Linked DNA regions of Homo sapiens: region 1 is linked to region 2. The links are contacts of gene promoters, found by promoter capture Hi-C in blood cells and fetal thymus (Javierre and others, 2016). All regions are on one chromosome and are shown on one strand. The core of a region is centred on a gene start or on the middle of the fragment in contact, and the rest is flanking DNA. Distances in the headings are between cores, read along the strand shown. Region 1 has its middle 9.6 kb from the start of GADD45A. Region 2 holds the start of LRRC40 (leucine rich repeat containing 40).

Evidence for each region. Contacts are between HindIII fragments. The CHiCAGO score rates a contact against its expected background, and 5 or more counts as called.
Region 1: a contact is called between a fragment that was not itself captured here and the fragment with the promoter of LRRC40 in region 2, in 1 of 17 cell types (neutrophils). The highest score is 7.7, in neutrophils.

The regions. Positions count from the first base shown.
Region 1 is chr1:67,673,785-67,677,372 of GRCh38, reverse strand. No RefSeq gene overlaps it. Among named protein-coding and RNA genes, the nearest start is that of GADD45A, 9.6 kb to the left of the region's middle. The HindIII fragment of the contact is 5,084 bases long and covers 1-3,588 here.
Region 2 is chr1:70,203,555-70,207,052 of GRCh38, reverse strand. It overlaps LRRC40 (leucine rich repeat containing 40), which reads left to right and starts at 1,474. Exons shown (of 15, transcript NM_017768.5): 1 at 1,474-1,663. The coding sequence starts at 1,513. It also overlaps a transcript of SRSF11 not described here. RefSeq lists enhancers at 1,251-1,560, 1,821-1,880. The HindIII fragment of the contact is 8,465 bases long and covers 1-3,498 here.

The sequences.
Region 1 (3,588 bases), core at 679-3,178, 2.5 Mb after region 2:
ATTCATGTTCCTCTGCTTTGATATCAATTTTCAAACATTTCAATCTGTTTCCATAGGTCAGTTGAAGTTATGTTACAACTTGCCTTATTAACCTTAATTTATTGTCTGGTTACCAAATGCTATGGAGTATGATTTGGCACTGTGTCTTAATAAACAGGTCACACCTGGGAGCTAGTGAGACCTCTCCCATCTGAGAAGAAGGAGCTACAACAGATGGTAAAACGACTGAAAACCAGGTGGGGTCACTGTTTAATGACCATCTGAATTAAGTTTGGTTAATTTGGCGTGTCCCTAATTATCCCTAGCAACTGGACCCTCTACTCCATTTTATAAGTTTGGATTTATATCTTTTATGTAAACTATCAAAACAAGTCCATCTGTGATCCTGAAGCTGTATTTGCCTTAAATCTAACCACAGGGGAAATCCTAATTTATTTGGTTCTAGCTATGAGGAGTCCTTAAACACTGGGTTTTTACAGTGCTCTGCAATTTACTTTTTCTCAGGTTGTCACCTATGATATGAGCATTGCCCTTCATTCTTCTCCAAGTTTAATGAAAAGACACTTAGCATAATTTCCAAAACTCAGACATGTCAAAACTTCAACCTATGTGCATCCCTTTAGAAGATTTTCTCATGAAATCTGTGTGCAGCAGTGAGTTGGCTTCCAGAGATGTTTAGAAAATTCAGAAGTTATGCTGTCCTCAACACTATAATAGATTCAAGGCCTGCCAGCTCCTTTAAAGACACTTCCTCCCCTACCCCCACCAGACCTTATTTTAGTTTGTTTATTTGTTTTTGTTTGTTTGTTTTAGGCAGGGTCTCCCTCTGTCACCCAGGCTGGAGTGCAGTGGCGCAATCTCAGTTCACTGCAGCCTCCAACTCCCAGGCTCAAGTGATCCTCCCCTAGGCTTTATTTATTAGTAAGAATATTAATTTGTGCTGGGATGGTGGCTTGCGACTATAATCCCAGCTACTCAGGGGGCTGAGGAGGGAGGATCACTTGAGACCATGACATCATGTAAACCAGGAGTCCAAGACCAGCCTGGGCAACACAGTGAGACCTCCATCTCTAAAAAAATTAAAATAAATTTTTAAAATATAAAAAGAAGAAAAAATACTAATTTGCTAAATGCTTATCATGCTTAGCACTATGGTAAATTTTTATTTACATGATGTCACTAAGCCCTCACAACAATCTATGAGATAGATACTATTATCTTCATTTTATTGCTAAGTAAGCTGTAGCCTACTGGAGAGGTTAAACTAGTTACTAACTCAAAAGACCCCTAGCTAAATGGCCAGGGCAAGATGCAAATGCACATCTGTGGGACTGCAAATCTCACATTCTTAACCACATATTATGCTTCTCTAGAACAGCTGTGGTTCACGTGGCATCAGAGTGTAGTGTTCAGAATGCAGACTCTGGAATCAGGCTTGGGCAAGCCATCTAAGCTCTTTTGCCTCTTTTCTGACAAACGCTGTCTCTTAAACTTATGATGAAAATCAAATGAGACAAAATACACACAGCACTTAGAGTACACTGCATGTAGCAGGACACCATGAATATTAATTAGATGGCACCCATTTTCCAATGTCCTTTCTAATTTTCTTTGTTCTTAATTCCTTCATCTAAGTAAAATATTGTATTTATTTCCATTTTCTCTAACATTTGAGGCATCATTGCTAACAGCAAAAGTACTGACTGGACTTCCTGGTCCGTCCTTACTGCTGTGAAAATTCCCCTGAATTTTGATGGCAGCCACAGGTAGATCCAATATACATGTTCCCTTTCTAACTATAGATGAACCGAGGTTCCCCCATCAGTGCATTTTAGATCTTTAGGCCGTTTTTTGTTTTTGTTTTTGTTTCCTTGTTTGTTTGAGATAGGGTCTTGCTCTGTCGCCCAGGCTGGAGTGCAGTGGCATGAACTCGGCTCACTGCAACCTCGGTTCACTGCAACCTCTGCCTCCCGGGCTCAAGTGATTCTCGTGCCTCAGCCTCCAGAGTAGCTGAGACTGCAGGCCTGCGCCACCATGCCTGGCTAATTTTTGCATTTTTAGTAGAGATGCAGTTTCACCATGTTGACCAGGCTGGTCTTGAATTCCTGGCCTCAAGTAATCCACCCATTTCAGCCTCCCAAAGTGCTAGGATTAGAGATGTGAGCCACCACAACCAGCCTTTTTAGGCAGTTTTGATAATGTGAATCATGTGTTTCTGTGCATGCTAAGGAACAGGCTTGATGTTATTCAAACACTTCTCGTGTGCGTGTTTTTTAATACAGAACAATGAGTTTCTCAAGTTCACTGTAAAATACTCATGTTTTCTTTTATCCTCTGAGAGCTTCCTGTATTTGTGAGCTCCTTTCAAATCAGCAACTGCAGCCTCGACATCTGGATCCTCCCTGGTGTGGGGAACATAAATTAACTGGTAGCACCCTGTAAATGTTATGGGCAGGAGGAGTTCAGGGAGTGCACAGAGGCAGGCCAGGGTGCTTTCAGTATGTGGCAGCTGGTCCCGATGTAGTGCCTCAGAACTGGGTTTAGCTGACGTCAGATAACACTGATGTGCACCAGATTGACTTGTAGTACCAGGAAAGCTGACCCCTCCCACTTCCCCTACTGCCCCTCTGCTTGCCAGGATGCTGGAGACCATTATGAACTCACAGTTGTCATTTGATCTCCATCTGGCTGCTGTCACTAAAGCTGCCTTTTATCATTTGCCAAAAAGTGTAAAGCAAAAGACATTTCCCTTTCTCACAAATCTTTGCTTCTAGTCCTTGCTCTTCTCATTTTCTGGGTAGTTCCAAGTAATTCTCCTTCTGTCTGAGTCTATGTAGCACCATCAGGAAACCAGCAAAGGACTCACTAGAATATTTACCCATATGCCATCTTCTTGGTGAACTAGATTTAGCAATGGATTTTTTAGGAAGTGTTAGAGGTGGGCTGTGGCTTTGCTGACTTCAAATATTATGTCTTAAGTTTGATGTGGTTTGAACTGCTGATATAAATGTGAGATTTGCGTGTATGAGCTCATATTGTGATAAATTTTATGAGGATGTAGATCACAACAGTCTAGCCATACAATTATGTGGGTCCCTGTATTAAATTAGAATCTACCCAAATTAAACAATGAATATAATAGCAACATGCCATAAATTGGATCTTCTAACAGCTTAGTAATATGAGGGGAATAGAAGAATAAATTCTGAGGTGATACTTGTTGTACTTAGTCACTAAGAACACTAGAATGTTAGTTGAAGCTGATCATAAATCCGGTACCAGCTTAAAAATTTACTGTTAGTGATCATCTAGCAGTTAAGATTTAGCAACATTAGCAAAAGATCATTCTTTGTCAAGAAAACTCTTTAGGGATGACATTTGATATTCAACAAGTGTTGATGGTAATGATGATGGAATATTGTACACTCCAAAAGTTTTGGAAACAAATTTAGGATTCTGATTTTTATGCAGTTTAGCAAATTAATTCTTCAAGAGGTAATTACAAAGAACCTTTTATGTATGTTCTCAGTATACTGTTTATAAAGAAATTAGAAGGCACTACACTCTATATGAATCCATAGTGTGTAT
Region 2 (3,498 bases), core at 225-2,724:
CAGGTGTGGTGGTGCGCGGCTATAATCCCAGCTACTGGAGAGGCTGAGGCAGGAGAATCACTTGAACCTGGGAGGCGGAGGTTGCAGTGAGCCGGGATCACGCCACTGCATTCCAGCCTAGGCGACAGACCAGACTTTGTCTCAAAAAAAAAAAAAAAAAAAAGACAAAAATCCACTCTTTGCTTTTTTAGTAGGGTAACAACTATTGGTAACTTTCTCTTGTTCGATATTAGTGTAAAGGACTCCACAGAAATAAGAACAAAAAGGGTAGAGTTAAAAACCGAATTTTACAGGTAGCAATAACCTGGACTCAGGTAAAAGTGCGTGATGAAGAATTGATCAAAGGGCCTTCATCCTAGCTTTCAACTATTCTACCAATCCTCAGTAGACTTGATGGGGGTTAGAATGGTATTCCCTGGCATATGCTTTTAAAACAAAATCATTTCAGGCAAAAGAAAAGTCTAGCACCCAGGATAGTACACATACTAGGCAGGATTAATCTTAATAATTACTTGTTGAATCAAGAAGTTGTACATTTCAGATGAAAATTTTAATTTCCTAGGAAACACCGACTTACATTGAACAAAATTTTCATTTGCTATTATTCTGGACTCACCGAGAGCTCAAGATTCTAGTTTTTATCTTCACTTATTTCAAAAACCTTATGCGGTAGGAATTATCCCCAAAGTAATGAAAAAAAGGAATGAGCTTTAAAAGCGGTTGAGTAAACTGCCTAAAGTTAACAGTTTCTAAAGTAAAGAAGCAGCTGAGATTTGAACTTGCTTTTTAGGGCTCAAAAATCCAAGCTGTCTGAGCTTCACTAAAGCATGTACCACTACTTGTCTCCCTAAACTGTCTGATACACAGAACATTTATTAAATTTTAAGGATTTTTGTTTTTGTCTTCTATGTTGCCAGTCCTTCCATTTCACATTACCTCCTTTGCTGGGTAAGCTATATACCCTCAATACAACGAGAATGGTGTCAGAGTACAAGCCTTAAGAACAGAAAATTTCTTTTACTCCGTACGCCAGAGGTCTGGCGCCACCACCACAAGCGACAAACACAGGCTGGGGTCCAGAAACGCTGCCGACCGCGCCCAGATCTCAAGTTTTAGTCAAGGCCCACGTTCAGACTAGGAGAGGGGAGAAGAGAGGGTTCTCTTTCCCCACACCCTCGCCACGGTGGAAGCACAGAGGAGAAGGTTGGAGTCGCAGTAACAGTGCAAACAATAAACCCGAAAGCCCCTCTTAAGCCCGTTAAACGCACTTACTTGATTGAAGTAATTCCAGGACGCTAGGCCGGCACCGGCAACGGAAAAGGCTTCTCTGTCCTCCAGCCCAGGCGCTGGTGCTGACGACATCTGGACTGCGCCGCAGAGAGTGAAGGCCCAGCGCGAGGCCGCGAGCCCAGCGCCCAGAGCGCGCGCTCACGAAAGGAGCGGGGCATCCCAACGGCGCCACCTTTAAGCGTCACGGGTGGGGCTGCAGCTTCTGGACCTAGGACTTTGAACATGTCGCGCCTGAAGCGGATAGCGGGGCAGGATCTCCGCGCTGGTTTCAAAGCAGGTGGAAGAGACTGCGGTACCTCGGTACCCCAAGGGCTGTTGAAGGCAGCGAGGAAGAGCGGCCAGTTAAACCTGTCGGGTAGAAACCTCAGTGAAGGTAAGACCCAGAGGTACGACCCTATTGTGTCTCCTGTCAGAAAGCCTTTGGCCCAGGCAACCTCCCTTTTCTCTGGGCTGGCTTTGGCCCCCTTTCTCAGACTGCTAGCCAGAATTTCTGTGCTCTAATCTAATCCCTGTGCTCATTTCGACCGGTTTGGTTAGCCCAGTTCAGTTCCTTCCCAGGTTCCCGCAATCTCTGTTAAAGGGACCCTGCTAAAAATACGGTCTAAATTTAAACGGGGCGCTTTCTGGGATTCCCACATTCTGTGGGATAAGCAACATAATATGTGACGAAACCAGCTATCAAATCACGGGCAAATCTTTTGTTTCTTTGGCCCTTATTTTCCTCCTCTTATTGTAATCTTCAAGGGCAATTACCAAAGCTAAAATTATATGTTTTATCGGCCCCTTTGTGAACCTGCACTGTTCCCTGCCGAGACGCTCTTCTGTATGCAGCTGTGCAGAGTTCTACTTACAAGGAATAATGAGTATATTTTCTAAGTTGAAGATCAGGATAGATGCCACACAGAGTGTTTGAATGTGGGGACATCCTGAGAAACCTGTTAAAGACCAAGAAGCACAAATCTGGGTACCATGAATGAATGGCCAGATGCTCTTCTGATTGTCGTGTGTGTGTGTGTGTGTGTGTGTGTGTAAGAGAGAGAGGGAGGGGAATGGAGAGATGGAGAAATAGAGCATTTTTCCTGTAATGTTTTTCTTCATTTATATTTAGGTTTTAAGACTGATTAAAACCTTCCATTTTCCTTCTAATGATTGCTTTCTTATTGTGACATGTATAAAGTAGATTAGGCAAGCAAATGCTTCTGAATGAATGAAAAGACACAGAATCCTTACTCCACCTAAAAGAGTTTTTGATCAATGGGAACATACTCATTTTCAAACTACAGTTGTGCATATATATATATCTACTTGGTTTCCCCAAAACCTGAAACATTTTTCTCTAAACTTGCATACCTATCATGCTAACATTCTGTTCTCTTACCTGTTTAATTTTTTAACAGCATTTATCACTATCAGAATTTATATCATTTATGTTTTTTGTTTTCTCTGCCCTCCAACCAAAAGGTTAATATCATGAAGTCAGTGAGCTTTGTTTTGTGCTTTGTTGTATTTCTATCACTGAAAATAGTGCTTGGTACATAGTAGAGTCTTATTAAATTTTGCGGAAGCAATAAGTAAGTGAATGAGTATTCTCAAATCATAAGTGGTGTGCTAGAATGTACTTATTGACTAGACTCAGGTGGTTTCGTCTGTTAAACTTTAAGAGAGCACATGGATTCTGACTCTTAGGTCCGTGATGATATGGATTAGAACTGCTTAGGTTATTGTTATATAACCAGAACCTAACACTTTACCTGGTACATAAAATGATTTTAAATGAGTGAATAAACAGCATTTCATAGGAGGGAAAGATATAAATGGCAGAAACTCATGGTATTTGTAGCTTATATATAAAAAAGGAATCCCTGTTACTATAATATAGAAAGTCTTTCTCTGTCTGGCTGTATGTAGCCCTCAGTTTCATCACTTGTTAGTGAAACTTTGATAGGCAAACCACTATAATTCTGAACTGTTTGTAGTTCGTTACGGGGTCGTGCTTCTTATCTTCCTATCTTTGCTCACATAACATTGAGATGGTTAATCACTCTGTGCCCTAATTTCTCATTTATTATGCAGGAGTCATAACAGGACCTATTAAGGTCTAAATGAGATAAAATGAAATAAAGTGCCTGGTACATAAAAAGTACACAGTAAAAATTCACCATTGCTGTTATCATGGCAGCACCTTCTAGTTGGTTTCCTGGAGTTTTT